Regions from separate parts of the Homo sapiens genome. Here regions 1, 2, 3 and 4 are each linked to region 5. The links are contacts of gene promoters, found by promoter capture Hi-C in blood cells and fetal thymus (Javierre and others, 2016). All regions are on one chromosome and are shown on one strand. The core of a region is centred on a gene start or on the middle of the fragment in contact, and the rest is flanking DNA. Distances in the headings are between cores, read along the strand shown.

Evidence for each region. The method cuts DNA at HindIII sites, captures the fragments that hold promoters and counts their contacts. A CHiCAGO score of 5 or more calls a contact.
Region 1: a fragment that was not itself captured here is called in contact with the fragment with the promoter of LCORL in region 5 in 5 of 17 cell types (monocytes, total CD8 T cells, naive CD8 T cells and 2 more); the score reaches 7.9 in monocytes.
Region 2: a fragment that was not itself captured here is called in contact with the fragment with the promoter of LCORL in region 5 in 1 of 17 cell types (monocytes); the score reaches 6.0 in monocytes.
Region 3: a fragment that was not itself captured here is called in contact with the fragment with the promoter of LCORL in region 5 in 4 of 17 cell types (monocytes, erythroblasts, megakaryocytes and 1 more); the score reaches 7.7 in monocytes.
Region 4: a fragment that was not itself captured here is called in contact with the fragment with the promoter of LCORL in region 5 in 1 of 17 cell types (monocytes); the score reaches 5.7 in monocytes.

The regions. Positions count from the first base shown.
Region 1 is chr4:17,784,132-17,788,648 of GRCh38, reverse strand. No RefSeq gene overlaps it. Among named protein-coding and RNA genes, the nearest start is that of FAM184B, 4.8 kb to the right of the region's middle. The HindIII fragment of the contact is 2,781 bases long and covers 1,297-4,077 here.
Region 2 is chr4:17,865,119-17,869,863 of GRCh38, reverse strand. The region is part of intron 7 of LCORL (ligand dependent nuclear receptor corepressor like); the gene reads left to right. Among named protein-coding and RNA genes, the nearest start is that of NCAPG, 57 kb to the right of the region's middle. The HindIII fragment of the contact is 6,517 bases long and covers 1-4,745 here.
Region 3 is chr4:17,838,371-17,842,934 of GRCh38, reverse strand. NCAPG (non-SMC condensin I complex subunit G) reads right to left here. Exons shown (of 21, transcript NM_022346.5): 17 at 3,098-3,259; 18 at 2,726-2,864; 19 at 2,242-2,328; 20 at 556-625. It overlaps LCORL (ligand dependent nuclear receptor corepressor like), which reads left to right. Exons shown (of 8, transcript NM_001394446.1): 8 at 1-1,748. Among named protein-coding and RNA genes, the nearest start is that of NCAPG, 30 kb to the right of the region's middle. The HindIII fragment of the contact is 4,850 bases long and covers 1-4,564 here.
Region 4 is chr4:17,882,397-17,886,546 of GRCh38, reverse strand. LCORL (ligand dependent nuclear receptor corepressor like) reads left to right here. Exons shown (of 8, transcript NM_001394446.1): 6 at 386-479. Among named protein-coding and RNA genes, the nearest start is that of NCAPG, 73 kb to the right of the region's middle. The HindIII fragment of the contact is 696 bases long and covers 1,172-1,867 here.
Region 5 is chr4:18,020,404-18,025,222 of GRCh38, reverse strand. LCORL (ligand dependent nuclear receptor corepressor like) reads left to right here and starts at 3,468. Exons shown (of 8, transcript NM_001394446.1): 1 at 3,468-3,625. The coding sequence starts at 3,472. RefSeq lists an enhancer at 2,837-3,096 and silencers at 3,147-3,606, 3,927-4,256. The HindIII fragment of the contact is 12,000 bases long and covers 1,206-4,819 here.

The sequences.
Region 1 (4,517 bases), core at 1,438-3,937, 240 kb after region 5:
ACCTCTGAATCACAGTATCTCAAAATGATAAATTCAATTATGTTGCTTTATTTTAAATGTTGCAATACTGTGTCATAATGTGTTATTAGTATACAATATTTCTAACATTTCATGAAATAACTCACTGCTACGGGAGCTCAAAGACAGCACCTCTGACTGGAGTAGTCAGTCCAGGGCTACCTCATGGGTGTGATTTGAACTGAGAATTGAAGGATTTTGGGATGTGGATAGCAGAGAGGACAAGAAGAACATCACAAAGCAATTAGAGGGAACTAGCAAGGGTTGGTTGGGCCATGAAGCAATTCTCTACATGGTGTCTGGTAGCATCTACAACAGCATCACTGAAGAGATTGTTTTAAATGCCTGACCCCAGACCGATGAATCAAAATTTCTGAGATGGGGAAGCAGAAATACTCATTTTTATCAAACTCCTTGTTTAGTAAATATAAACAAATTTTATGTTTACTAATATTTGAGAATTTCTAACCCCAGGTAAATACTCTGGATAATACTTGTCTGCAAAGACACTGTGGAGGACAACCACCACCAAAAACAGCAGGAGTCAATTCCAAAAAGAGAAATTGAGAAACAACTACAATGCAATATTCAACCATAGATCAGACATATTACCGATACTTTAGTCCATTAAAAAATTTGAGTTGCCACTTAGTACATAGCTCAAATGATCATATCAATATTTAACACAATCTGACTATGACTTTGCTATAAAACATTTTATTCCAAAATGTCATTCTCCATGGTGTCATGTCAATATACTGAAATCTCAGTACAAACGTCACCATTGTGTAAAAGAGGTTTTCATTTTACTCCCTGGGAGATGAGATGGAAGATTTGATACCATGCTACGTTTAATGAAACCCTGAATACTAGTTAATGTGTGTTAGGATTACAGTTAAAAAAAAAAAAACATGATGCTAATTTACACGTGTGTTCTTACATTCACTCAAAAAAGGGAAGATGTTTGACAGAAAACATCAGCTTTTAAAAATAAAATATGGTATAGGTGCTATACGGAAATGCAGAGCTACGAGAACATATCTTAAGGACATGCAGACTGATCTGCAACTACAGAGACAGCCTTCCTATGGAACTGACATTCAGGCTGAGATCTGAAAGATGAGTAGGAATGAGTCAGGCATAGTAGGGGAAAAAGCCTTCTAGATACTCAAGAATGTGAACTTGGTTTTAGATGAGTAATATATTAGGAGTAATAACAATAATCGAGTTACCTGTGCCACTTAACTGATTAGGAAAGAAAAATACTAATTAAAAGCTTTAGCCTAAGTAAATCTACCGAAGTAAATTTTTACCAAAGAAATCACCTAAGGCAACACTTAGATTATCAGCGTGGTAAAGATGAATTATTTAATACCTGTTGGGACAACCATTTAGCCATCTGGAAAAGCATAAGTCTGGAGTCTAACCTCATTCCATATATCAGCATAAATCCCAGGTAGATAAACCATATTTTAAATGAAGTCATGAAAGTACTAGGATAAACTATGGATTCCCTTTTCCTCATAATCTGGGGTAGAAAAGGCTTTTCTAAGCATGAGGAAAAAGCCAAAAAATGTGAGGGAAAAGATCAACAGATTTTCCTACATAAAAATTCAAAATGTTTATAGAGCATGAGAAAGCTAGAAAAAAAATCCGCTAACTGCGGGAAATGTTTGCAATATATATGATAGGCAAAGTGCTAAAAGCCCCTATTAAGGAAGAGCTCTTTGTAAGCAGCAAGAAAGCCAGGCAAAAACAATGACTAATCAAGTTGTGGGAAGGTATTCAGTTCTACCAGCAAACAAGTGGTGCGGGGGAATATTTCTGTGGGAACACTTGCACATCTGTGCAAAAACCCACTTACAACAATGTCATGTAGGCAGTTCCCTTGATGCAATAGTAACCTTAAAATACACGATTAGGCAGGCTGTCCCAGGTGTCATGGACAGGAAACCTCACACCGCAAATTAAGAGGCTCAAATCACATGGTTTATCGCTTTTAAACAAAATATAGTTGGAAAGATATAGTGACGTTTAACACATTTAGGATAGGGTCCAAGAGAGGTGGGAGGAAAAATTACCTGAATTTCATGTTACGCAGTGTTGTGGCGTCTTATCTGCTACATCAACCTTTACCTCTGATAATTAGGTTATGAGGACCGCAGCCAAAACTGAAAATGGGGGCTCAGCGGTGCTTACAGCCAGTGCACACTTGCTCTGTCAGAAACTCAGGGGCAAGGATACCTAGCTAATGGCCTGCTGAGAGCCGTGGGTTTTTTGTTTGTTTGTTTGTTTGTTTTTATTTTTAGAGACAGGATCTCACTCTATCACCCAGGCTAGAGTGCAGTGGCAGGATCATAGCTCACTGCAGCCTCGAACTCCCGGGCTCAAGCAATCCTCCCACATTAGCCTCCCAAAGTGCTGGGATTACAGACATGAGCCACTGCTCCCGACTGAAAGCCATGTTCTTAATCTGTGTTTCTGTGGCAGAACAGAAATAGGGCCAGAACTGGTGTCATTAATGAATGGCCATTTTAGGAATGAACTATCAGCCTGAAGGTGGCATCGTCTGTACATTGCAACTTGGCCTTTCCCACCTTATTCTGTCCGTTAGGAACACTCTTGTTTCTTCCATCCTTTTTACATATATTCCATTTATTCTCTGTCATGTCTTGCTCTACACTATCTATACTTAACATCTTAATACTGCCTATTTCACAGGCTACTTCTTTGCCCATTATACTTAACACATGAATTTCATATATTCTTTTTTTTCTCTATCCCTTAGGACAGAATTTAATATCCTCATAATACAGCAAGCATACATTACAAATATACGTTAAAGATTTTGGCTTGAAATATTTTAAAAATTGTCCAGTAGAAGATAGAGTAAATGGTATTGTATGTAATGGAAGACTGGTTGTTAGGAATGGGAAGCTAGATCTTCATTGACAAAAAGATATCCACTTTATATTACTGAGTAAGTAGGGTTCAAAAGCATTATTATAGGCGGGACATGGTGGCTTACCCCTGTAATCCTAGCATTTTGGGAGGCCAAGGTGGGCGGATCACTTGTCAGGAGTTCAAGACCAGCCTGGCCAATATGGTGAAACCCTGTCTCTACTAAAAATAGAAAAATTAGCCACGCATAGTGGCAGGCACCTGCAATCCCAGCTGAGGCAGGAGAATCCCTTGAACCCAGTAGGCAGAGGTTGTAGTGAGCCAAGATCGCACCACTGCACTCCAGCCTGGGCGATAGAGTGAGACTCATCAAAAACAAAACAAAACAAAAAAAATTATTGGTCGGGTGCAGTGGCTCATGCCTGTAATCCCAACACTTTGGGAGGCTGAAGCTGAGGTCAGGAGTTCGAGACCAGCCTGGCCAACATGGCGAAACCCCATCTCTACTAAAAATACAAAAATTAGCCAGGCATGGTGGCGCATGCCTGAAATCCCAGCTACTCAAGAGGCTGAATGAAGCAAGAGAATCTCTTGAACCCGGAAGGTGGAAGTTGCAGTGAGCCAAGATTGCGCCACTGCACTCCATCCTGGGCAACAGGAGCGAGACTTCGTCTCAAAAAAAAAATTATTATAGTATTTGTTTATAGTTTACACAGAAGTGTGTAAACATTCCTGAAATACATATATGTTTGTTACATTTTCTATATGTTTACACAGAAATGTCTAGAAGTATCTTCTCCAAAATATTAACAATAATTTTCTCTGAGTTTGGAATGTGGGGTTATTTTTGCTTGCTTCTACTCTTTTTTTGTTGTTGTTGTTTGTATTATTATGGGTGAGGATGTTTGGGGGGGATACTATGAGAAGTTTATAATCTAAAGAAAAGGCAAATCAATTATGATTTTAAATTTTTCTGACCAAGCACAGTGGCTCACACCTGTAATCCCAGCACTTTTGGGAGGCCGAGGTGGGAAGATCACTTGAAGCTAGGAGTTCAACACCAGCCTGGACATCATAGTGAGACCTTGTTTCTATTTTAAAAAATAAGAATTTTTAAAAGAAAAATATCATATTGCCAGCATTGTGCTCTGGGAAGCTTATATTTGTAATCTAAAGACAAATCAATTGGAAAGAATATCACCTTTGAGGTCAGATAGACCCAGATCCATTCACTAGCTGTATACAGTTGGGGACTCAACCTGCCTTAGCTTCACTTTCCTAGTCTGTAGAATGAGAATGACAATAAGTACCTCAGAGAAGGTCAAAACATGTGCTACGGGCTTAGCACAGTGCCAATATGACATTAGTGGCCTAATAAATGTACTTCCACCTCCACATTTGATATAGTACTTAATTCTCTTCTGCCCTCAATTTCATTCCTGATGGTGTAAAGGGACCTACTAATCCCAGTGCTGGAAAATCCTAGGAGCTGCAGAGGGCTCTCCAAAACAGGTCGGCTCATGGTGCCTTGATTACAGCAGCTGTGGGCCAACAAAGCTGATAAAGGAATCTGATTTTCCCGTTGTCTTCCATTGTAA
Region 2 (4,745 bases), core at 371-2,870, 150 kb after region 5:
ATAGTAAGATCTACTAAGATAGAATGCTCTTTAGATGTGAGAAATTTGAGGTGTTCAGTGGGATATCCAAGAAAGGATGTTAGGAAGCAGTTATGGATATGCTTCCTAAACATACGGATCTGTTTCCCAAGAAAAAGGCCTGAGCTGAAATAAGGATTTGTGAATCAACAAATAACTGAAACCATGAGAGTGGAAGAGATTACAATGAGATTACTCATTGTAAGATTGAAAGAGCCTAGGGAGTCGGAGCCTCAAAGATTTAGGAAAAAGGAAGGATGTATACAAAAGGAGACAGATGACAGTAGTTGAGAGGTAAGAGGAAAGCCTGGAGAATGTGGTGAATGGAAATGTGTTGTAAGAAGGGAGAAGGCAATGTAAACTGTTGATAAGAAGTCAACTAAGATGAGCCCTGAAACGGTTCCATTGAATATAGCAACAAGAGTTTATCTTAGTTGTTGGGAAAGAGTAGCTTTGGTGGACTAACAGAGCCACAAGTCATATTCAAGGCTAGATGAGTTAAATGAAGGAAGAGAAAGAAAATTAGCACAGAAAACTATAATTGACCATGAATGGAGAGAATATACAAAGGTTAGCTAGATTAAGCTGGGGTTGAAGACAGGTTTAAAAGATATATATTTACATGCTAATGGAAAAAAGCCAATAGGGAATAAACAATTGAAGATAAAGAAATGAGATGGCAACCAATGGAAATGGAGTGAAGCCCCTGTGTAGATTATTGGGTATAGGATCTAGGACATGGTTAGAGAGATTGGTCTTAGCCAAAAGGGTCACTTTTCTCTAAAAAAAAAAAAAAAAAAAGGTAGTGGGAACAATATGTGGGAAGGCAAATCGGTAATTTGTGGGCAGAATCCTGAGATATTAGAGTCCATTTTCTGTGAATCAAGAGGTAATCAAGAGTAGTATGTGGGATTGGGTAATTGGGGAATATGGACAAGGTTTGAAATAGCTGTCTCAAGAAATATAGGATAGAACAACTGGTTTTATCTCAGCTGCCAGAATGTAAGCCTGGAGAAAGGTGGGCCCTTAGATTTAGTAATAGTCAAGTTCACCACGTGGGGATGACAGGACAAAGAGATCGAGCCAAGAATATATCTGTTCTGTGAATAGTGAGAAGCTATATGATCAAAGCAGAGTTCTAGAGAATCTTTTCTAATAGTAGCACAAATATAGATCCAGGGGGTGGAGGATGGGAAATGTGATGTGTGAAAGGTCAGTTGCAGGAGATGATTTTTGAGATGGTAATGGCCTAAAAATGGAGTGCGACTGTTGGAAATAATATAGACCTTTTTAATGTCAGTATCTTTTGAGTTCCCAAAGCAGGTGTATATCTTTTCCTAATTGATAAACATCTCGATATAAATAAGCTGACTCTGGACACCTCTGAGTAAACTTTTAAGAATCAAATAACCTAATGTGGTCTTGAAGCTCCTGTAATAATAGTAGCCATCCTAAAACATTAAATTTTCCCATAAAAATTTTGAATTCAGTTGACACTTTGAATCGAATTCTGAGATGACTGAAAAAAAAAAGTTTGTCAGCTTCTTCTATTTTGCCATCTGTCGTCAAAAATAACTGAATTTACATTTTTCCCATTCAGAATTCTGGTTTTCACACAGGTTTGTAACTGATGGCTGATTTTTAACTAAGTAATATACTCCTTCAACTACCAGAAACCAAGACTAACCATACATACTCCTCTGATCTTGCTTATGAGCATTTTAACACATATTTTGAACACTGAACACAAGATAAAAGGAAATGATTACTTTAAGTACAACTGTTAAGATTTGATTCTGTTAAAGTATTCTAATGAAATTAGGAATTTTTTTACACCCAACCCCCCTGAGGAATTTTTAATAAAGATACATTCTGTTTATATTTGAGTTTTTCCCCTGTAATTTTCTTAGGAATTAAGAGAAGAGTTTAGGTTTTAAAGAGTCTCTAACTTTTGCCATAATATTTTGTGAAAATGTAAAACAGGTAAACAATCTTTGTCTTGATGTTTTTTCTTAGAATTTTTCTTGAATATTTTATATTCCATTGCTTTCTCAACTATTACTGAGTTTTCAGGATATTCTGTTTTACTAATTGCCCCATATCTTTCTCAGAAAATCATTCAGTTTATTTAACAAACATTGGATACTTTTTCTTTTGATGTATCAGGTGTTGTGTTAGATGTTCAAGTCACAAAGGAACTCAAGGAATTTATCTAGAAGATATTTCAAGTTTTTACTTTGGCAACATAATTAGTAAAAGAAACATAATTTGGCTGATTCCACATACTGGTGGTTGTAGAGAACAGAACTATTTTCAGACATAGATTTAATTCTCTAAATTGGGAAGTCTGGCCCATGGCCTATTTTGTAAATAAAGTTTTATTGGAACACTGCCATGTTCATTCACTCGTATATTGCCTATTGCTATTTTTGTGCTGCAGAAGCTGAATAGTTGCAACAAGACACCATAAAGCCTACAGAGTCTAAAATATTTACTACCTGGCACTTTGCAGAAAAGTTTGCCGACTCTGTTCGTATCACTACAATTTTGATATGGTGTGGCTTGAAAAAAATAAAAAATAAGTTGTTGGCTTTTAAAAAATATATTAAGGTCATCCTATCTTGTTCGTCCCCAACACCCCATCCACTTCTTCCTCAACACTCGCTCCCTCAACACAATACAATGTATTTGACATGTTAGCTGTTCTGTTTTGTTTGATCTTTACGGGTCAATATCTGTCTTTATCCAGCAGAGTGGTGCTGGGGGAGCCATGAACACCAGTTGTATTCTGTTTTGTAAATCTTTATTCTCTCCCTGCAGCCTCCAGACCTGCTTTCTCTATCTGAGGTAAGTTCAAGGGTCACCCTTTTCTTCTTTAACCAGCTGCTACCACCTGCTAGAAGGAGATTGGTTTCAATGCCTCACACCATGATAAATTCCTGCCTCAAGGTCTAAATGTTCTCTTTCTCCTTTTTTCTTCCTTCTTTATTTCTTAAGAATTCAAAATTCTTAGTTCAGCTCTCCTAACTACCATTTTTTCTTCTCGTTTTTCCTGGGCAGTAACAGTTTTCTTGTCATGGAGCTGAGCATTCTGTGATTATCGTAACGTTAAGCCTAGTGAATTCACCTATAGTTTAATTACAAACAAAAAAGGCAAGGGTAGGTGTCTGAATGATTTCATCTTGCCACTTTTTTTTTTCTTGTTTGTGTTTGTTTTATTTAAACCAGACCTTGGCTTCTTTTTCCTTCTCCCAGTTCCAGGCAACCTGGAAAATGCATTTATTTGCTACTTTTTTTCTGTGTTATGCAAACATAGAAAGCTAGATTTTAAAAGCCTGTACCTATAAACTCTTTTTATTTATTCAAAAGTGTTTGTCTTCTGCGTGCTAGGCAGTATGTTAGACACATGCAAAATAGTGGGGGCAAAACCAGATATGGTTCCTACCCTCACGGTTCAAGTTTATTTGGAGAGGCAGACATTGAGTAAATACACAAATCTGTTACATTCTCAGTATGTGGTGCTATAGGAATTTAATTTTGGGAGGTTTTACCAAGTGAAGGAAGAGTTCCCTGAGCAAATGGCCATTAAGCTAAGCTGTGAAGGGTGAGGAGGAATTAACTAGGCCAAGTGGTGGAGAACCAGTAGGGTAGGAAGAAGGATTTGGATGTGGAAAAAATGCTGAGGTGTGGGATTCTTGGCAGGTTAGAGGTGTAAGTCATGGCCAGTGTGTCTAGTCAAGAAAGAAGGAGATGATGTCAGATGTAGGGAGGATTGAGAAGGAAGCAAAGGAACAGACTATACAAGTTCTTATGAGCCATGCCAAGAAGTTTGTCTACTTTCAGTGGCTCCCCATTGCACTTAGGGCGGAGATTTAAATTGGAAGTGGACAGGGAAGATATGACATAATCAGATTTTGCTTTCTAGAAGATCTCCCTGGTTGCATTGTGAAGAAGGAAGGGTGTAGGGCAAGACACCTAACCACACTTAGACCATTGTGATTCACAAACTTTAGTGTGCATCAGAATCACCAGCAAGTCTTGTTAAAATGATTGTGCGGATCCACCTACAGAGTTTGATTGAGTATGGGGTGGGGCCCAAGTGATACTTATGCTTATGCTTCTGGACCTGGAAGTACACTTTGAGAACCACTGGTAATAGAGTGTAAGTGTTATAGTGGTAGAAGGAAGATTATTTACTAATATGAACATAATGTTATAAGTTTCCCTTTAAACACTTCTTCAGCTATATCACAAATTTTGCTCTGCTGTGTTTTCATTTTAATTAAATTCAAAATATTTTCTAATTTCTCTTGTGATTTTTTCTTTAGCCCATGGATTATTTAGAGACATGTTGGCTGGGCGCAGTACTCACGCCTGTAATTCCAACACTTTGGGAGGCTGAGGCAGGAAGATTACTTGAGCCCAGGAATTCAAGACCAGCCTGGGCAACATGGCAAGACCCTGCCTAGAGATGTGTTGTTTAGTTTCCAAATATTTAGGGATTTTTCAGATATATTTCTGGTACTGATTTCTAATTTAATTCTAATATACTGTTTGTGATTTCAGTCTTTTTGAATTTTTTGTGATGTTTTATATGGCCGAGAATCTATGCAAATCTAAGTAAATGTTCTGTGTGTTCTTGAAAATAATGTATATTCTACTGCCGTTGAGTGAAGTGTTCTATAAATGTCAGTTAAGCAAGATGGTTGCTAGTGCTGTTCAAGATT
Region 3 (4,564 bases), core at 1,084-3,583, 180 kb after region 5:
AATAAATTCCAAAAACATAGTAAAAAACAAGTTTCCCCCCAAAAAAGACAAATTTAATCAACAGTGTAAAACTATGTACTGAAAATACACACAATACAATTTTGCAAATGAATACAAGACAGCTACCAACTTTCAGCTCTAACAGTGGCTTGACTGACAGAAGCCAAAAATAAAACACTCTACCACACAATATACCCAAATTATAGACAGAATTATTCTATCAGTATGTAAGTGTAGAGAACCCAAATATTATCAAAATCAAGAGTTTGCTAACTGAAGATCAAAGAGGAGTCACATCATGTAATTAAAAATTGAAACAACATATTAAAGATAGTACTAAAGACCATGCCAGCTAATAGGCAAAAGCAAACACGCCGTAAGAAGTCAAATGCTCTTGATGATGGAATTTTAGACTATATACCTAAGACAGCTATTTATAGTTTTCACTATCTTGTTATATATTCTCTCTCATTCGCAAGAAAATTAGTTTTTTTCTACTTGTAGAAATAAAAAGTGAAGATAGGCCTCCATATATTCTAGACATGCATGACATACCTTTCAGAGTCGGCTTCAGCAGTCTGACACCTCCTGTTCGTCCTAGCTGAAACTGTCACTTTTCTCTGTCCTTGAAGATAGTATAATTCATTATCAGGATTTATTATCAGTTGCTTTTTGTTTTTAATCTAGTTTCTAGGCTAACTAAATCCTTTGTCTTCAACACAACAATCCTTTCAACACATGTATCTCCTACTTGTTCTAGCCATCTTGGTACCAGTTATCACTGCCACAGAAAAAGGAACCCAAGCAAGATTAAAACTTAATTTATTTTGTAAGCACTAATAATGAGTAAGGGAAAATAAGGAAATTTCAAGCAAGTTAAAAGAAGGCAAATTTTAGTTCAATGTATTTGAGGACAGTATATGAAAAATGTGTTATAATGAAGTACCTCTATTATTGCTATAGCACAAAGTCTGTGGAGACTCATGAAAATTAAGGGTTAGAAAGGTAGGTTAGGTGCATAAACAGGTGCTAAAGAAACAACTTTTTTTTTTCTTGGAAGGTGATAAAACATAGTAAGGTAATAATGGCTTCTTGTAAAATAACATACATGACCAATTCAAATGTGTTCTAAAATATATTTCAATGTAAAAACTAGAACCTTTATATACTGGGGATTATAAGATTCTACTTACTAGAAATTTACAAGGTTAAGGAGTAAGACAAAGTTTGGCTTGTGATGTTTCTCATTTATAAGGAATAAAACAATATGAATATATGAAGTTTGGTCTATTAAAAAGGATGGTGTTCTCATGGTGTGATATACCACAAAAAAAATCTGATCAAAACCAAACTGTTCAATGTGACAGTCTGAAAATTATATACTCTACTTCATTCATGTTACACTTTTTTCTACTCCTTACCTGCTTTTACTAATGCATTTATCCCCAAGAAAACATCCAACAATATGGGACTAATTTGGAACAATATCCAGCAATTGGTATTTAAATAATTTACTGGTTACAAAACAATATTATGACCAGACTCCATTTTAGAAAAAATTAAATCTGCATCGAAAAGGGCCTTAAAAAATAGATTTCTAAAATCAAAATCATGGTTGGCTCATGGGTGGGATTATTAGTGTTCCTTATAGTAGTTTGTCTGGATGTACTTTCTGATTCTTCTGTAATAAGCATGCATTGCTTTTGTAATGAGGAAATAATAAAACAATAAAAAGATCTTGAATTTCAGATTTTTTTCCAAGTGACCCCCTAATAGTCAGCATTTACTTTGCCAACAGATCCCCTATTGTTGGATAGCCCTTGGGAAATAAGTTGGGAAAATATGAAATAAGATGGGAATAGAAGGAAAACAAAGCCCAGAAAAATACTACAGGGATTTTTTAAAAATGCTTAGTTACAGGAAGGATAGAACACAAATAACTAATATAAAACCATCATTTAACCAAATCTTAATTTAACCCAAATTGTCTTTTGTAATATCTTTTGCATCATACTTCTTTCAATCTAAAGCACCAAGAGCAACACTGATTTTATAATCTTTAGACACAAGGCAAAAACTGACATCCACAGAAAGAATTAAAAAGAAAGGATACCAAAGACATTTTAAAAAAAATCTTTATCCCTAAGGAAACAAAGATAAGAAAACTTGCAAAACAAGTATTTTTCATTGGAAGATAAAATTTAAAACTTTTATCATAAAGATGGTCAATCCACACACTACCTCTGTTAGTCTTTAGCTGAGTAGACTTTGATGCTTGGGTTGCTTTTACACCCCTGAGTGGAGTCATATATACTTCTTTATTCTTTTCTATTAAAGGGAATAATACAACAATATAAATAAGATAACCTCATGAAATATTTTAAATTGTCTTTTTAAGACCAGTTTTTATAAAACTGAAATGACAAAGTCCTTCTAGCAGCTAGTGAAAAGTTATAAATCACCCTTTCGAAAATTTGAATATTGGAAAAAGAAGCAAAACTCTTAAAAAGATGGTCATATGTTGAGAAATGCATGCCAAAAAACACTTGAAAAGCAGAATAAACATTTATCAGTAATGCTCTTTCCCAAGAGGATTAATTAGAAAAAAAATTTCATTCATTTCTGATGTCCAACCAAACATGTTAGAGTAGAAAAAAATATGTCTCAGTAAAGATGGAAAAAAAAAAACAGAACCTTATAAATATTCTGTTCAGTATGTGATTACCATCTTCATTTTGGAAAGTAGTTGTAGTCAAGGTGGCATCCTGTGCTGCTTCAGCTTGGTCACCAAATTCTTTATTTCCTTTTTCTAACTGAATCTTGATTTTCTCCAAAGCTCTCAGACATGTCCTATCTTTTACTTGCTATAAAAGAAAACATTATTAACATTTTGTAAACACCGCATTCCCTAATCTTTGAAAATAGTACCAATACATATCAAGTTGTTTAAAAACACTAAATTATATGAAATTTATGAAGAAAATACTTCAAATAAGTCACAATATGCTAACATATGTATAATCTAATACAACCATGTAAATTCTACATGTATAAATATAAACACAAACTAATTTAGAGTAATGAGAAACTACTTTACCTCCAGAATCTCATTCAATAGAACCAGAAGATCTTTTGCAAGATGGCTACTGAGTTCTAAAGAACTCAAGGCTTTTGTATAGACTCGAATTTCTGGCGAGCACGGACTTGTTAAGATCTCATTGCAAATTTTCATAGCCAAATTGTCATGTACTGTTAAGGCCTAAAAAATTAAGAGAAAATTCTCTGTAAATTGAAGATGATTATGATTATTATATAGTCTTACACATCTAACAAATATTTCCAACTAATTTTCTTGCCATAATCCCAAATATAAAATGTCTAAAACCAAATTTAACATCCTCCCTACCCCCAAAATAAGCTCCCCTTCTTGACTTCTTGTTGTGGATGTTGTGATATAGGGCCCAGTTCCACTCCCTTTAGGAAAGATGCACTCATCCCCCAGTTGCTGCATGTTTTGGAGGGTAAAAGTTCCCAGCTGCAGTACTGATCCAGGCTGACAATGGTGGACTTTGGTGGACCTTGTCCAAGATCATACCTCTTCTCCCAAAGATTTGTCCAAATCCAATGACTGGCCCGTGCACAAGTACAGTGTTTCAGCTTGTCTCCATTCTGGACAACTCAAAGGAACATCCCAGTTCCGGAACTCCCTATGGGATTGGCTGGGGCCTTTGTTTGCATAGCAGTAGTTGAACTTAGGGCTATGCCCCAATCTACTTTTCCCTTACTCTTCCAAGACACTGATCATGAGAGTACTCCCCAATTAAACTATGTCAACAGCTCCTTTGAAGTCTGCTGTTACACATACTTAGAGTTTTCCTGGACTCCTCCATCTCCCTTGCCTCTCAAGCTCTTTCTTTTAGATTCTTGTACCCATAATTCTTTATTAGGTCAATTTCTATTCTTTCTACTATTACTTTCTAGTACTTTTTCTACAAGCGAATTATACAGATTTTCAGCTGCTTTCTTTATTAATATTCTTTTCTTTCTGCTCACCAATTCATCTCATATAACCACCACTGACCACCAAATTAATCTTTCCAATAAGTGGTTTTCATGACATTAACCCTTTCATCATAAGCCCTGCATAATTATCCATTGCACATAAGGCCAACTCCAAATTCCCTACATTGGCCTTTAAAGCAATCTATAATCTACCCCCAGTGTTGTGCCCTAACAGTCCTATTCAGGATCCTTAGCCAAAGTCATCTTTCTACAGTTCCCCAATATTTGCATAACCATCTACATATATCACCTTTACTAAAACATCCTTCCTCTACCCAAACCACTCCCCAAATACCAACAAGGCCTAACTGAATTTTGGTCAATGAGTTTTAAAACTAATGCTGTACTCATCATTCCTACCACATGACTCTTGCCCTTGTCTCAAGTCATGAAGTGCTTAATAGCTCTATTACTGACCCTTACCTAATTTTGCCTAATATCCTTTGTAATCTTATCTTTCCAATAATATACAACATATGAATTGAACAGAGTAGCTTATCAC
Region 4 (4,150 bases), core at 270-2,769, 140 kb after region 5:
TTTGTACAATTTACATCACTCCCACCTTCCCAAAGCATTATCTGGGCAGCTTTGAATGGAAAACAGTCATGAATGAGCAATCAATGGCTATTCACTACAAAATGGTGGAGAGGTGACTAAAAGTTTATCTTAGACAAATTTTATATCATATATTTAGTTAGTTTCTTCCTATCACCTGGCAATGCCAGCTCCTCCTCTGTTCTTTTTTTCCTATATAGTGCCTTCCCAGTCATATCCTGTTCCTAAACCCGTTTAAGATGAATAGGTAATGGCCACATATCAAATACTAGTGTTATGAATTAGATCAACAAAATATGAAATATTAAAATGTAAGGATTGCCTATCTGTTGCAAATATAAAGTTTTTTCTCTTGCAAAAATTATAGGGGATGGAGTGTTAGATCTCTCTACAAAGAAAACCAGCATAAAATCTGAAGAGTCATCCATATGTGATCCTTCTTCTGAAAATTCAGTGGCTGGGTAAGCAATATCTAGGAAATATAATTTAATATTAATATAAAATTATCTCTGCAGAGAACTCTTAATACTATTCTGAGTAGTATTGACGTATATAGTTTTCCTCCAGAATTTTTGTCACTCATAAGTGTCTCTCTCTCATACCTTTCATTTGTCCTTTCTCTTTCTTTTTTATTCTTTCTGTTAAAGAAAAGTTATCAGAACAATCACCAAACTTTAGTTCATGTTACTAAAATGAACTACCAACTTATAGAATACAAACTAAGAAGCAGGACGAGTAAGAGAATATTAAATTAAATACTCAGGACGCAATTTTAAGGGAAATATGTAATTTATTAATTTTTTAAAACAATGAACAAATTCCAAAAGCACTGTACTTACTAATTAATGCTAGTTTATAGTGTTTAGATTTTTTTATTGCACTTTAGATGTGGTGGCAAACTACTTAAATATATCTAGTAATCACCACAAAAAGTCCTCTCATGTTTTGAAAAGTGTCATTAATCATTAAATAAATAATTAGTAGTGAAATGCTGTTCTGTTGGATTTTTGGATTTTTTTTTACAACTTTTTTGCATCTTCCCATTAACTAACTGCATAGGAAGCTTTTTTGTCACATTTAAATCTTAGAGGTAGATTGTAATTTGTTTCAACTACGGCTGTAGTAGTATTTGAGTCGTAAGGTATAGTAAGCTTTCTGTTTGAGAAACTTTGAAAATTACAATGATAATTTGAAATAGTGACATTTATAATATCTAAAATTAAATTATTCAAATATAACATCTACTTGTTTCAAGTTTTAAGCTCTTGTCTAGAGAAAAATTAGTCTTGTGGAAATATGGGATGTTTGTGTTTGGAAATATTCCTGCTGCTACAAATTTCCTTTAAAGGGGTTGACTCTTTTATTACTTGTTTAGCGGTAACGTCACGTTTGTACTAACAAAAACTCCTTTAGGATTTGGGTACTTTTTATAATGGAGCTCTAATTGTATAAATAAAATTTATAAGTGTTGCTCTGCAAGCATCTATCAGAGGAATAGCAACATCATGAGAATATTTTTACAAATACTGAGTTAGGATTTTATGTTCTTGGAAGGTCTGCCCGTTGAGGCCACCGTATCATTGTCACATTGTCCTACCAGGACTGTAGCGTTTGCTTTGATAAGGAGTAACTACTACATCTCACAGACTTAAAAGTGTCATAAGCAGTGATGTTACCTAAGCAAGGAGTATAATAAAGGAGTGGACCCTCCCCTTCCATAGCTGTGTGAGAGTCTCTCATGCATCAGTTTACCATCGTTTCATTCCATCCATCCAGGAGACTACACAGAAACAGAGAGGACTATGTGGAAAGAAGTGCTGAGTTTGCAGATGGTTTGCTCTCAAAAGCTTTGAAAGACATTCAGTCTGGAGCACTGGACATAAATAAAGCAGGCATACTTTATGGCATACCTCAAAAAACTTTACTTCTTCACTTAGAAGCCTTACCAGCAGGGAAGCCTGCATCTTTTAAAAACAAAACTCGAGATTTCCATGATAGTTATTCATATAAGGACAGTAAAGAAACTTGTGCAGTGCTGCAAAAAGTAGCCTTGTGGGCAAGAGCTCAAGCAGAGCGCACAGAAAAAAGTAAACTCAATCTACTTGAAACCTCAGAAATAAAATTCCCAACAGCTTCCACTTACCTCCATCAGCTAACTCTACAGAAAATGGTCACTCAGTTTAAAGAAAAAAATGAAAGCCTCCAATATGAAACTTCAAATCCTACTGTACAGTTAAAAATTCCTCAGCTACGAGTAAGTTCTGTCTCAAAATCACAACCTGATGGTTCTGGTCTGTTGGATGTTATGTATCAAGTTTCCAAAACCTCTTCAGTCCTAGAAGGATCAGCTCTCCAAAAACTGAAAAATATACTCCCTAAACAGAACAAAATAGAATGTTCTGGGCCTGTAACTCACTCAAGTGTTGACTCTTACTTTCTACATGGGGACCTCTCTCCTTTGTGTCTTAATTCTAAAAATGGAACAGTTGATGGAACCTCTGAAAATACTGAAGATGGATTAGATCGAAAAGACAGTAAGCAGCCCAGGAAAAAACGTGGCCGCTATCGGCAATATGATCATGAAATAATGGAAGAAGCTATTGCAATGGTAATGAGCGGAAAAATGAGTGTTTCCAAAGCACAAGGAATTTATGGGGTACCTCACAGCACTTTAGAATACAAGGTAAAAGAAAGATCTGGAACACTGAAGACTCCTCCGAAGAAGAAACTACGATTACCAGACACTGGGTTATATAATATGACAGATTCAGGGACTGGCAGCTGCAAAAACAGCAGCAAGCCTGTGTAGATTACTTGTTAGGAAAATGTTTGTGAGTGTGTGTGTGTGTGTGTGTTTGCGTGTGTGTGTATGTGCACAGGTGTGTATTTGTGTGTCTATATACACACGTGGGAATTACAAATGCTCACTCTGACAGGAGACATGAAATTTTACAGTTCAAAAACCACTTACATGCCTTTTGAAAAAAAGTTTTATTCAGGGTTTTCACTGTGGACAGAATTATATAGTTGCTTACTTAATTCTGATAGTTTGTATTTAATCCTTGTATAAATAGGTGAAAAAGATTCAGGTTTTCTTTAGTAGTCAATAGCATAAAGCGTTGTGGGAAAACGAGTAATTGTCAAGTGAAACATTTTTATTGGTGAAAGACCATTCCAGCCATTCAGTTGAACCATCTTATAATGGAAATATGATATTCATAGTTTATAAACATTCTATACAACAGACTTAACACTTGTTGTATGTATGTCAAGCAACCAATCAAAGTTTAAATAGCTATCTCCATACTAAGAAAAATTAATATATACAGTATTAGTACACGACAGTGCATTCTATGAAATACAAAATGCACTCAAGTGCATCCACCAGGAATAGAAAAGAAAACCTTAAAGGATATGTATAATGAAATTTAATATTTATCATTTAATAGTTGATTTAGCAAGAAGTTGGGGTTTATAAGGTATATACTTTAAAAAAACTGACACATAGTTAACCCCAGCAGCTATAGAACCCTTTAATATAATAAGATGGAGTACTAAGAACAAAAAATAATTTAAATTTAATTATTAAAATAATTTAGTTTTGTTTTTCATTTGAAAAATAAGCTAATGTGTAAGGTTAGAAAAGAAAGTTGGAATGCAACTTAGAGCATGTTTATAATGTGCACAGAAAAAGCTTGAGAATGATAATTTTGGTTTAAATGTGCTGGTTAGTTGATGTTATGACTACTTTAAATTTTAAGGATTGTGACACACTCCTACTATTGAAAAACCTCAGTGTAACTTTAATATATTTGCTGCTGTGACATTTCAAAACATTTTCAGTTTATCAAAATGAATTGCAGATTTCATTTTGGTGGGCGATACATTATCATTTTGCTAATAACCAAATTTGCAGTTTGTTCAGGGTCTTGAATAGATTTACAAATATTTAACACTGAAGCTGTTTTGAACTTTCAGTAATGTAAACTCTCTACTAATTGGGTAGTTAGAAGCTGGGCAGTGCATTTTAACTTTTACTAGACTCATAAGAGAGACTGGTCATTTTTACCTAGCAGTTTTAAAATATGGGTCAAAGTATCCTTGTTGGATTTATGGAGTATGCAACTGTAGT
Region 5 (4,819 bases), core at 2,219-4,718:
GAAATGTCCAGCTGAGCCTAGCACAAATTTTCATTCCACAGAATTATGAGCTAAATGATTAGTTGGTGTTTCAAGGTACTAAGTTGTGGGGTAGTTTGTCCTGCCCTCAAAGCTATCTAATATATAACTCCTTAAAAGTCAGGCATGACCATAAAATTTGCTTCATCTACTGAAATGTGTCACTTCTGGTAGAAGCCTTTAAGAGTTGGACTGTGATTTAGCATCATCTTTCTCGTCATGGTGACTGGGGAGCTTCCAAATGGCATAGCCCCAGAAGCCTCAGTCCCGAGATGGACATGAGGCTTATAGGGCTCATGTTCTTTCCACCCTTTTCCACACTGACCTTTGGAAGACAGATAGTGTACTATGAAATAAACTTTTGTATTAACCTTTGTATTAAATCACTGAGGTTTTGAGTTTACTGGATTTTGGGTTTGTTACTGGAGCAGAACATAGCACATTCTAACTAATATATAAATTGGCACCCAGAAGGAGGTACAGTTATAACAGAAAATCTAAAATATGTGGCTTTAACTTAGAGGCTCAGTGGGTGGTAGCAAGGAAATTGTCAGAGGCTGGAAAGTTGGAGATGCTAACTGTCGTAAAATATTTGCTGAAACGGTTCATGTGTGTCTCCCATTTTTCTCCTTTCTAAACAGGAATGTTTACCATATGCTGTGGTTTGAATTTGCCCACGAAAAAGCACATGTTGGAAACATAAACTCCAATGCAACAGTGTTGGGAACTGTGGCCTAATGAGAAGTGACAGGCTATGAGGGCATAGTGAATGGATTAATGCTATTATCAAGGGAGTGGATTCTTTATAGCAGGAGTGAGTTCATTATAAAAGGATGAGTTTGGCCCCCTTTTACTCACTTGCCTTCTCTTTGCCTTTCCACTGTGGGGCCATGTAACAAGAAGGCCCTTGTTAGATGCCAGCACCCTGATCTTGGACTTTCTAGGCCCTAGAACCATGAGCAATAAATGTCTGCTCTTCATATAAATTACCCAGTCAGCGGTATTCCATTACAGCAGCACAAAATAGACTAAGACACCATGTCTATTTAGTCCCTATTCCATCACTGTGCGTGTGTGTCTGTGTGTGTGTGTGTGTGAGAGAGAGAGAGAGAGAGAAGAGAGATCGCGAGTGAGAGAGATCTGGGGAGAATACCTTATCTTTTTAGTTGTCTATAACAAGAGAAGCTTTATCCAGTTCCAATATGGAGACTACCAACCATCACCCAGAGATGCCAGACTTTGAGATTAATGCCTTTACTGAACAGAACTTTTGGATTGTCTCACTTTGTGATAGGAGTAAATCTATTTTGTAGTGTGAAGAAAGTGAACTGTAAACTGGTGACCAGAAGGATAGATCACAGTAATCCTTGATACTATTTACCAATAAATTCTGGTTATCTTCTTTTTGCACATATAATAGGATCGCACTTCCCTGCTCCCTTTAAGATAGATACGCCCGAATAATTCGCTTTGGTCAATGAAATGTGAGAACTGACTTGTATCACTTTTAGGAAGAACCAGTTCGCCATTCTTCATCTTCCTTTTGCCTATCACCCAAGGGGGGACGTTGCAGAGATTCCAGCCTCTTTAAGGATCCAGTTGCTTAGTGAGACCACATGGAATGAAGCCCCCTCCTCCTGCCACCCAGAGATGAACATGTAGATAATCAGGAAATAGTTTTTTGTTGTTGTTTTAAGCCACTAAGATTCTTGGATCATTTATTACTGCACCATAATTTTTCCCATCCTAACTAATGTAGATTACTATAAAAGTGATCAGGAAAACTGCAAAGGCTGATCATCGTGGCAATTGTGAGTGGAAGTGGTTAACTAAAACCATCCACTGACAATTCCAAAATCACCTTCACTAGTGATTTCACCTGCACTCCAATTGTGACCGTTCTAGAAAAGGTGATTATGCGTTCAAACTTTATTATTTTTAACTTATGAAGATGCAAAATTACATCTTCACTACTGAAGTCATAATGAGCAAAGAAATACTTTCTCATAGGAAGAAAAAGAAGGTGGATAAGGATAAGCCACAAAACAGGGAAGGTGGTACTGAATTCAGAGTTTATGAGATTTCCAAGAAGAATTAAACATATTTCCCACAGACTTGTGAATAAATTTCCAGAAATACACAGTACTTCTTAGCAAACGTTGGGTAGCTTAGCTTCGGCTTGATAAACTGCACTTATACGGAAACAAACGCACAATCGCTCTGGTGCAAAAGTAAAAACTGTGATTGGAGTCTGTATTTAAACGTAAGATTCCTCTCTAGCTCTCTCTGAAGAAGTTATTTTCTCTAGCACGTGGTAGAATTCATTCCATTAACCTTTGTAAAGTGCTTAATCCCGTGTCACGCACTGTACTAGGGTCTAGCGAGTGACAGATGTCACGGTACAGAGATCTCAGTGGGTCGCTGCCCTCCAGGAGCTTATAAAGAAAATTTTCCTTCTGCAGTTTTCAGCCGGCTACACCCAGTCCCCTGCAAGTAATTTTCAGTGAAAAAAACCCGCATCTTTTTCCTAGTCCTTGCAAATATTCTGGCTTTCCGAGATCTCTTCGCCTTGAATACCGAAGTCACTCCGGGATCTCTCTCTGGACGTTTGGCAGTTATTCCAGATGTAGCCGAATGACCGGCTTGCCCTTTCCCTGCGGAGTGACAGGAAGACAGCGACCCCGGAAAGTTTCCAGCACTTAAAACGCAAAGCGCAGCCTGAACCCACAAGGAGCCGACAACTCTTGCGGCTTCCACCACCCTTCTATCGCGGAGCCTAAGGAAGCTAAAGCAGTCGGGTCAGACCCGGCCACCGGGCAGCGCATGGTTCCGGGCGCAGGGAGCGACAGACTCAGCCCCCCAGCGGCGCGGCGCAGAGAAGTTGCAGGCCAGCCTGCATACCCAAGTGCGGGGGGGAAGAAAAACAAACAAACAAAAAAAATCCTTTCTTCTGGACTACAATGACCGGCAAGCAACGCGCCACGGCGCCAAGTTCAGCTTCGGGATCCTGGCGAAATGGAGCCTGGGAAGTGAAGTCTCCGGACTGTCGGAGTCCCGTAGTGAAGGCAGAAAGTAGGCGTTGCTAGTCCGCTCCACTAGCACGCCGGTTCCTGGCTGGGCTCCGGGTCTCTCGCTCCCGCTCAGGGTTTTCGCGGGCGGCGGGAGCGGTATGGCTCGCCTGAGTAAACTCCAGCGGGAGGGGGAGGAGGGTAGTGGGTGGGGAGGCGGGGTCAGCGGAAGCGGCAGGTTGCTTCCTTCTCCTCTGGCTCCCTCCCCGCCTCTCCCTGAGGGAGCGGTGGGAGGGGGAGGGCAGGGCAGAGGGAAGGTAGTGACACGTGTCAATCAACCCCCCTCCGGGGGGCGCGCGCTCCGGGGCTCGCGCCGAGGGCTCGCGCCCCTGCCTCGTGCCTGCGCTGCTCGTATGTAAATGAGGGCGCGTGACGCGGGACGCAGATGGACAAGGGAAGAGAGAGAATGGCCGCTGCCGCCGCCGCTGCTGCCGCCGCCGCCGCCGCCGCTCAGTGCCGGAGCCCTCGGTGCGCGGCGGAGAGAAGAGGATTCCGGCGGGAACTCGACTCTTGGCGCCACCGCCTCATGCACTGTGTAGGTAAGAGAGACGCGGGCCGGGGCCCCGGGCTCCGCGCGGCGACCGCTGTCGCAGCCCGAGGAGTTTGTGGCTGAGGGGTTTAGTTGAATCTCCCGTTCGGGTTAGTTCGGTGGGGGAGCGAGATGGGAGCGGCGCGGCGCGGCGGCCCCGGCGCTCGCCTTTTGTCTTGCGGGCTGCTGGCCCGGCGCGGTCCGCGCTCCTTCGCCTTCCCAGCTCTTGGGCTCCCCGGGAACTGTTAGTTTGGACCCGCTTGCTGAGCCCCCGCGGAAGCCGCCCGCTCGCTCTCTCCCCGAAACTCCTCGGCGCCCGTCGCTGCCCGCCGTCGCCCGCCGTCCACCCTGACAGGACGGAGGAAGCGGCCCGGTGGGTCGGCGCCCTGGCGGAGGAGAGCCGGCGGGCAGGGCGGCCGGAGGAAGGCGGGCTGGTCCGCGCCCCCGCCGAGCGCACACACACCCCCTTGTCGCCGCCGGGGGCCGGGTGAGCAGACGCGGCCAGTTCCCGGGGACCTGGACCTGGAGACCCACGGGCACTCGCAGGGCGGGGGCCGCTGATGGGCCGGCTGGGGGCGAGGGGCGGCGGGGGCGTCGTCCGAGGGGCGGGGGGCGCCCAACTCTGCCCTCTCGCGCTCGGCGGCGGCGCTGTGTGTACCCCTTTAAGAAGGAGCCGCTTGAGCGCTGACGGTTGGGATTTGAAGTTCTTCCTCCCTCTTTGGAAGTCTGGACGGATGGGGGGTGTTGCCACGGCAACGACACCCTCCCCCCCGTCTGCTTGCGGACGCCCCGACGACTCTGGTCCTCTTTCACTGTCATGTGATGGACTCTTCCTTACACACACACACACATATACACGCATACGCATCGCCCTCCCCACCTCCCATCCCCATTCAACTGCAATTCCCTCTTTTTGGTTGGATCTGAATCGTTTTGCCTCAAACTTCTGGGCTTGGGGCTCTCACCCTGTGGATTGTTTAGGGTGACAGGAATGGTGGGACTCCCGACCTTGCTGCAGTCGCTTTTTTTTTTTTCTTTTTTTGCCTAAGACGAATGCATAGAGCTGTTATCCAGCAGGTTGGTTTAGTGGGCTTAGAGGGGCGAACACGGATTATGGAATGGGGCGCGTTGTGGGTGTTTGTTTTGGAAGGGGGTTATGGGTGGGAGTGTAGGGGAAGAGGTAGAAAGGAAGGTTGTATTGTGT